2 separate regions of the Homo sapiens genome follow, and region 2 is linked to region 1. The links are contacts of gene promoters, found by promoter capture Hi-C in human tissues and cell types (Jung and others, 2019). All regions are on one chromosome and are shown on one strand. The core of a region is centred on a gene start or on the middle of the fragment in contact, and the rest is flanking DNA. Distances in the headings are between cores, read along the strand shown.

The links. Contacts are between HindIII fragments. The study calls those that stand out against the background at their distance.
Region 2: a fragment that was not itself captured here is called in contact with the fragment with the promoter of L3HYPDH in region 1 in 1 of the 25 tissues and cell types used here (dorsolateral prefrontal cortex).

The regions. Positions count from the first base shown.
Region 1 is chr14:59,482,245-59,486,347 of GRCh38, reverse strand. It overlaps L3HYPDH (trans-L-3-hydroxyproline dehydratase), which reads left to right and starts at 1,940. Exons shown (of 5, transcript NM_144581.2): 1 at 1,940-2,539. The coding sequence starts at 2,032. It overlaps JKAMP (JNK1/MAPK8 associated membrane protein), which reads right to left and starts at 1,831. Exons shown (of 7, transcript NM_016475.5): 1 at 1,755-1,831. The coding sequence starts at 1,758. RefSeq lists an enhancer at 1,586-1,865. The HindIII fragment of the contact is 11,286 bases long and covers 1-4,103 here.
Region 2 is chr14:58,185,798-58,189,900 of GRCh38, reverse strand. No RefSeq gene overlaps it. Among named protein-coding and RNA genes, the nearest start is that of ACTR10, 12 kb to the left of the region's middle. The HindIII fragment of the contact is 4,169 bases long and covers 1-3,773 here.

The DNA of each region.
Region 1 (4,103 bases), core at 691-3,190:
ACCTTGTATTTTGCCCAGTCAGGACATTAAGCACCCACATGTAGACACACAATTATCATTATCACCTATGTTCATAACAGAACACATTTTCACATGGGAAAAGCAGAGAGAACATAATTTCATAACAGAGGTATGCAAATTACCTTTATAAAAAGTTTCCTACATTGTCCTAGCTTTTATCATTTTTGTGGAGGATAAGTGAAAATTTCATCAAGGCTGTCACTGGGCCAATATTTTAGAAACCACTGCATTAAAATTAAGCCCCTGATCTAAAGGCTTAGGGGAAAAGCAGCTATTCCTTACTTAAAAAAACCCCAACAACTAAGAACCTAATACGTTGTCTTTGACCTTATTCACAAGAAATTATGGAAGTTTTCTTCATCAGTGACATCTGATTCCCTTCATTCATTCATTGATTAAAACAAACAAACAGGCTCGGTGAGGTGGCTCACGCCTGTAATCCCAGCACTTTGGGAGGTCGAGGTGGGCAGATCATGAGGTCAGGAGTTCCAGACCAGCCTGGCCAAAATGGTGAAACCCCGTCTCTACTAAAAATACAAAAATTAGCCTGACGTGGTGGCGCGCGCCTGTAGTCCCAGCTACTGGGGAGGCTGAGGCAGGAGAATCGCTTGAACCCAGGAGGCAGAGGTTGCAGTGAGCCGAGATCGCGCCACTGCACTCCAGCCTGGGCTACAGAAGGAGACTCCGTCTCAAAACAAACTGCGGTCTACATGTGAATTAATTTGAAAAATTATGCATCTTTTGACTATTCTTGAACAATCATTTCCCAAATTATTCACGAATTCACAATCTAGACTGCCTGGTCTACAGTGCCTTCTCTCCTTTCACATTCAAGCAGACTTTTTACTTCCTTCTCCTTATGCTGCTGAGAGAAAAAGAGAAACAGCATTGAATAATATTCCTCCAGTTTAATATTTTCGCTTTTAACAAATTTCGGACTTAGCTTTTTAAACCCACTGGCCTCTTTAATGGGCGCTTATTTTTTTTGTAACCAATTGTAATCACAATGTTCTAAATTAATACATGAAAATGAATATTTCAGGTTTTTCAAGAATGCAGAAGGTAAGGAATTGGAAACTTCTGTATGGGCTTTACATCTAGTAGATGCTTAATAAATACACGTGAATATCAATAATCTAAAGTTTCTCAAAATCCAAGGCCTGAAAACCAGTATGATAAACTGAACTGAAATAAACAGCCTATCACTTACTAAGCAAAACCCAGGCTCCAAGCGACTGTTGAATTTCTCCTTTCATTTCCTTTAGCGAACGATGGCTAAAGTTTTAAGATTCCATTTTTTTGCAGCGGTCCTGCCCTTTGTGACGGGCGCTATAAATCTACGTTTGAGGTTGAAGCAGTAGACAAATTATGCAGCAACTTGCTTCTGCTTTACTGTTTTTTCTGCACTATCACCCGCGTTTTCAATTCCGAAGTCAACCCTCAAGCAAGTGTTCCCTCGACATTAAACTAAGGGACTGAAGAGACATTTCGGACCAAACAACAAAGACCTGGCATTTCGCCGCAGACAGCGCGCCTCCCCTAGTAGCCCGTTGCGGACAGACCACCCCAACCCCGCAGGAGTGCGGAGCCCGGCCCGAGGGCGGGCGGGGTCAAGGGGCGAGCCTGCGCCGCCAACCGAAGGCCGCCTACAAAGAGCCGAGCCCGAGGCCAGCCGTGTAGGAAAGTAGTCGGGACTACCAGAAACGCTTCCCGGGATCTTGGCGACCACTCACCCATGGGCCGCCTGAAGGTTTTTTTCGAGAAGCACTAGATCAGCGGATCTGGCAGCTGCACCGAACATCCGGGCCACAGCGAGCTCGGCGGCTCCGCCTCCCGGTAACCCGGGCGACAGCTCCGAAGTTCCTCCCTCGCTTCCGGGTTTAGGCTCCGAGACCCCGCCCCCCGGACGTGGCTGGTTAGCGTCCCGCCCTCCTCCCGCGGAGTCAGTGGGTGAGGGTCGGGCTTGAAGCCATAGCTGCGGGACCGTACTCGTCTCCCCCGACGCAGACCATGGAGAGCGCGCTGGCGGTGCCCCGGCTGCCCCCGCATGATCCAGGGACGCCGGTGCTGTCGGTGGTGGACATGCACACGGGCGGCGAGCCCTTGCGTATCGTGCTGGCGGGGTGTCCGGAGGTGTCTGGGCCCACCCTGCTGGCCAAGCGGCGCTACATGCGCCAGCACCTTGACCACGTGCGGCGACGGCTCATGTTCGAGCCCCGAGGGCACCGGGACATGTACGGGGCGGTCCTAGTCCCGAGCGAGCTGCCGGACGCGCATCTGGGCGTCCTGTTCCTGCACAACGAGGGCTACAGCTCCATGTGCGGCCACGCAGTGCTGGCGCTGGGCCGCTTCGCTTTGGACTTCGGGCTTGTGCCGGCGCCCCCTGCGGGCACCCGCGAGGCCCGCGTCAATATCCACTGCCCCTGCGGGCTGGTGACCGCCTTCGTGGCATGCGAGGACGGCCGCAGCCACGGACCGGTGCGCTTCCACAGCGTCCCGGCCTTCGTGCTGGCCACAGGTAATGGGCGGGACCTTTCCAGCCCAGGGCAGAGCTGCAACCGGGACGCGACTAACTACATTAACGGTTTTTCTGGGCTGGAACTCTGGCAACTAACCTACTCCGCGAAACCTTGCAATTAATAGAAAGGTAAATCACTGCCAACGTGTGTCAGCAGCCTTGCGTATTTGGTGCGTGTAATTTCGATTTTCCCTGACTCCCATCCGCCTGTGGTTTTGGGAGACCCTTGAGGAGCGAGGAATTGCGTGTTACCCTGACTCAGCGCCTCCCTCTGCACTGGTGAGGCATTCCTAGAGATTTCACCGGTGGATAAAGCAAGGTACGGTGGGGTCAAGGAAAGAGCGAAGAACAGCCAATGTACCAGGGTTCCAGGCTGGCTGAGAATATGCTTGGTAGACACAGAATCACACTTAATAAGTTACTAAACCTGGTCTCCTTTCCTCACCTCCCCCACTTCTTTGAAGAATTAAATGAGAATGAATGAACAAAGCAGTTTATAAATCATTAAGATACGAATGTTGCTTTTCTTTAAGAACAGGAACACACATTGCCTGGTTTCAAATCCTGATAACCCCCTAAAGCTGTGCAACCTTAGGCAAATTACTTAATCTCTCTGTGCCTGTGTTTCTTCTTTTCCCTCATAGAGTTTTTTTGTTAGGATTAAATGAGAGTATGCAAGATACTGTATTCCTGGAGATAGATTGCAAGGTTTATATGATCGCTAAAGTTCCCTAGGCCTATTGAGCCATTAAAAGGTTTTGCTGGATTCTCTAGTACAGATCCTTGTACAGCTTATCATGTAAAGCAGGGCATCTCTATAACCATAACCCTTACAGGAGGGATGACCTGGCAAGCTGGCATCTGGTTTCTCATCAGACTACTACCTCCCAGGAGCTGAATTCTATCAGTAAGAATGCTTTAGTCATTGTGACTGGAAGTGAGCCAGGAGCCAGTTTACCAGGAATAGAGTTATCCTTTTCTTAAAAATCTTCAAGCCATGCAAATCATCTGTTAGAAAGTTGGACCTTGATTCCCCCTGAAGAACTAGGTTTCAGATTAGCCTGATTATGAATGATAACTGATAGAACAGGCACTTTTAGAGCAACCTTAGGCAGCTGAAATCCACGAGTTAACGAAGAATGCCTCTGGAGAAATTGATGCCATTTTCCCAGAGAATGGTGTCACTTCCAGACTGGGAGGCCACTTGAGGGAGACAGAATTTATGTTTACGATTCCATTTTTAAAACCTCAACAGTTTAACTAGCGTGGCTACCAGAATTCCCCCTAGGCAACTCCAGCAGCAGAGTAGAAACACTCTAGACTTCTGTAGGAAATGGCAGCTGGCAGCAGGAACACAAACTACATCTCATTTCTGGGTCAGTTAGGGCAGGGTCAGTCAACCACTTGACCTCAGTAGTTCCTCTCAGTAGTTCCTGAGAGCATCACTGTATGACAGTACAATGATTAGTGGGCATTAATGGTCACTGAGTTAAGAAAATGAAATGCTATATTCTCTACTTTGAAAAATGCATACAAGGCAGACATAGTGTTCAAGGTCACTGCC
Region 2 (4,103 bases), core at 440-2,939, 1.3 Mb after region 1:
CCACCGCTCCCAGCTAATTTTTGTATTTTTAGTAGAGACGCGGTTTCGTCATGTTGGCCAGGCTGGTCTCAAACTCCTGGCCTCCAGTGGTCCGCCCGCCTCAGACTCCCAAAGTGCTAGGATTACTGGCATGAGCCACCATGCCCATCCAGCAATGATTTCTTGTCTAGTGTGTGCTGGCAGAGTGCTAAGTCTGGTATCTCAGTTAATCCTTGCAAATCTTTATTTATCAACATATGAAAAAAATCTCCTGCTCATAGAGGTTAAGTAACTTGTATGAGGTCATACTGCTAGTGTGTGACAAAATTTGGACTTGCTCTTCCTATTACCCCACATTGCCTTCTGAAAAAAAAAAATGACAGCTAAATTATACATGTGTTCATCAGGCACTCCTAAAGGGAAAAAAAAATCTGGAGCCAAACCATTTAAATAAATGTGACAAGATATATCTAAAATTAAACAGTGCATTGAAGGGTGTGATTTGTTCTGCTACAGAAAAAGTATTCCCAGACAGTCTAGATTATGTCTCTGATCAATATGCTCAGTGAGAGAAGGATATTCCATTTTCTGAAAACGATCCCACACATTTCAGCTGCAAATAGTTAATTAGTCATTTCATAGCCAGAAAGAAGGGAGTAATCCTTTAATGTCCATATGGCATACGTTTTCCAAGCTTATTTTTATATTCCCTTCAGTCCTTTCAATCCCAGCCTGAAAAGATTACTTAGATGATTTAGATGTAAAGAAATGTTATCATGTACACTCTATCAGGACATGCATTGAGCCCTTCTTTTCAAAGGCCTTATCAGACAGAGGTCATTTTACCAATAGGGTTTATTTCTCCAAGAAAGAAATTCAAGTAACAGAAACACTGATTGCAAATTTTGTACTAAGCAAATACTGTTAAAATATTTTAGATGTGATAATGGTATTATGGTTATATTATTAGGAAAGAACTCTCTTTTAGAATTGCATGATGAAATATTTATGGGAAAATGATATCATGCCTGAGATTTACTTCAAAATAATGTGGAGAGAGAGGTTAGTGAGTTTGCAGATGGGGCAGATGGGCCATAGGTTGATGGCTGTTGGCCTGGGTGATGGCTATTTGGGGGTTTATTACACTAGTATCTATATGTTTATGTATTTAAAAATAAGTTAAAAAATGCACTCACCTCTGGAAATATATAATCAAAAAAGAATACAACAAAAGAAAAAGTTAAAGCTTTTTTTAAAAAAGTAAAAAGAATAATAAAAATAAAAAAATTAAAAATTAAGGTTAAAAAACAAAATATGTGACTAACAAGTCTGACTCACATGTTGGGATATATATTCACTTTATAATAATCCTTACCTTCAAGTACACTATGTAGGGTAGAACAGCAGTACTCAAAGTATGTTCTGAGAGGATTGTTTGTTGTCCATAGGCATCAGTGTGTATCAGCCAATATTTATATCAGGATAACATTTTCATTACTATTTTGGTATAAGAAATTTTGATGTGATTTTTCTCATTGGGGTTGTCCAAGAAGAGCATACCTAAAAGAACCCAATTTTCCCCATTATTTTCCGGGAGGTTTTGTTGTGGTCATCATTGTCATTGCTGTTGTTCCTATTTTGTGGTACTGTTTTCCGTAGTGGCAACAACTGGGAGTGTGTGAGGTATATATCCCATGGCATGTAGGGTTCTGCCACAGTCGTCTGTCGTTTGGAAATATTTCAGAGGCACTGCTCTAATGATTGAGTCTTACCATGATGTCTATATTCTCACTTGTCGTTAAAGATTGGTAAAGCCTAGTCACACATCCTTACGGAAAATAATTTGCCGTATTGTCTAACGCTGTCAGCAGGCATCACGAGAGGGAAAGAGAAAACTGTCAGTCTATGCCCTGTAATTCAGGGACAAGGGTGGAGGCAAAAGCAGAGCAGCATATGTTCCTCAACTGAAAAGTGGATAAAGACAATGTGGTACAGCCATACAATGGAATATTATTCAGCAATTCAGCAACAAAAAGGAACAAACTGCTGAAATACCCTACGACATTGGATGAATGTCAAAATCATTATGTTGAATGAAAGACACCAGATACAGAAGATAATATATGATTCAATTTATAGGAGCTGTCCACAAAAGGCAAATCTATACAGATAAAAAGTAGAGTTTCTTAGGGCCAGGAATGAGAATGGGCATTAATTCTAAGTGGACATTAGGGATCTTAGTGGGGTTATAGGCATGTTCTAAAACTGGATTATGGTGATGGTTGTATAACTCGGTAAATTTACTAAAAATCATTGAATTGTATGTTTAAAACCGGTGAATTTTATGATATTTAAAGTATATGTCAACAAAGTTGTTTTTTATAAAAATCAAATCAGCTCTAAAATCTTATTTTTCACTTTTGATATTTTTGAGTGTATGAGATGTGGCAGTGATCAAAGCTAGTGGAGTGGTGTAGTCCAGAAAGAAGATTTGCTTGTCACATCTTACAATGTTCCAAATGCCTGACTTGGAACTCCAGTACCAAGAAGCTTTGTATAAAAAATCGTTGGCGTGGGCTGGGCGTGATGGCTCATGCCTGTAATCCCAGCACTTTGGGAGGCCGAGGCGGGCGGATGGCCTGAGGTCAGGAGTTAAAGACCAGCCTGGCCAACATGGTGAAACCCCATCTCTACTAAAAATTCAAAAATTAGCCGGGCATGGTGGTAGGCGCCTGTAATCCCAGCTACTTGGGAGGCTGAGGCAGGAAAATCGCTTGAACCTGGAAGATGGAGGTTGCAGTGACCCGAGATTGCGCAATTGCACTCCAGCCTAGGTGACAAGAGCGAGATTTCGTCTCAAAAAAAAAAAAAATTGTTGATGTGGGGTGCATGTCTTTTAGAAATGTTTGAAAGTCCTTCTCATTATCCTAGGGGAAGAGGCTTCTCTTCTTCAATTCAGAGCCAATCCCTGCACTTGAGCTCTGGGCCTCATCCCTCACACCTTCTCAGTGGCCATGCTTCCTCAGTTATACCTGCCTCCTTCTGTTTCTCACCAGCATCTTTTAAAAAAAGAAAATCCTCCCTTAGCCTTATCTTCCCCTCTAGATGCCACCCTATCTCTTTTCTATTTGATCTTTGTGAAAGAGTTGTCTACATTCATTGCCTCATCTTTCTTTCTTCCCATCATTCCTTAACCTATTGCAGTCTGGATTTTGCCACTTGACCAATATTGCTCTTGCCAACCACATCAGTTTCTTCTTTGTTTGTTAAATCCAATGGACATAGGTCAGTGTTTAGCCTATTTGACTTCTCTGTAAATTTTCAAACTGTTGACTGCTCTCTCCTTGAAACTTTCTCTTCCCTTAGCTTCTACAACGTTACTCTTTTTTGGTTTATCACATATTTTATAGATATTTCTTTGGAGTTGTCTACTATTCTATCTCTTAATATGTTAATATACTGTTCTCTACCATTTTGTCTTGGGATCACTTCTTTTCTCATCTCCACACTTGCTTCCTCAGTTATCTTATTCTCTTTCATGGCTTCATTTACTATCATATACTCATGCCCAACTCCACTCTCACACAGGCTGTAACTTCAGCTCAGATATGTTGCCTGAGCTTAAAACTTTATTATCCAACAAAACACAGACACATTCTTTGTGGAGATCCCACAACCACCTTAAACTCAACATGTCCAAAACTTAACTACTCATAATCCTTTGAAAAGTGTCCCCATAGCCTACATTTTTTTTTCCAATCACTATGAAAGATCTTTCAGGAGCCTAGGCTGGAAACCAGAAATAGTTCTTCTCAACTCCTTCTTTCCTTTTACTTCCCATTTTCCATCAGTTACGAAGTCCTATGATTTTTCCTTCTCGTACATCTTGGGTCTATTATCATTTGTCTTAGTCTGTTCACGCTGCTATAATAAAATGCCGTAAACTAGGTATCTTATGCAAAACAGAAACTTATTTCTCATAGTTCTGGAGGCTTGGAAGTCGAAGATCAAGGTGTCTAGTGAAGGCCCACTCCCTAGTTCACTGAATTGTGCCTTCTCACTGCAACCTCACATGGTGGAAGGGGCAAGGCAGCTCCCTGGGGCTTTTTTTTTTCTTTCTCAAA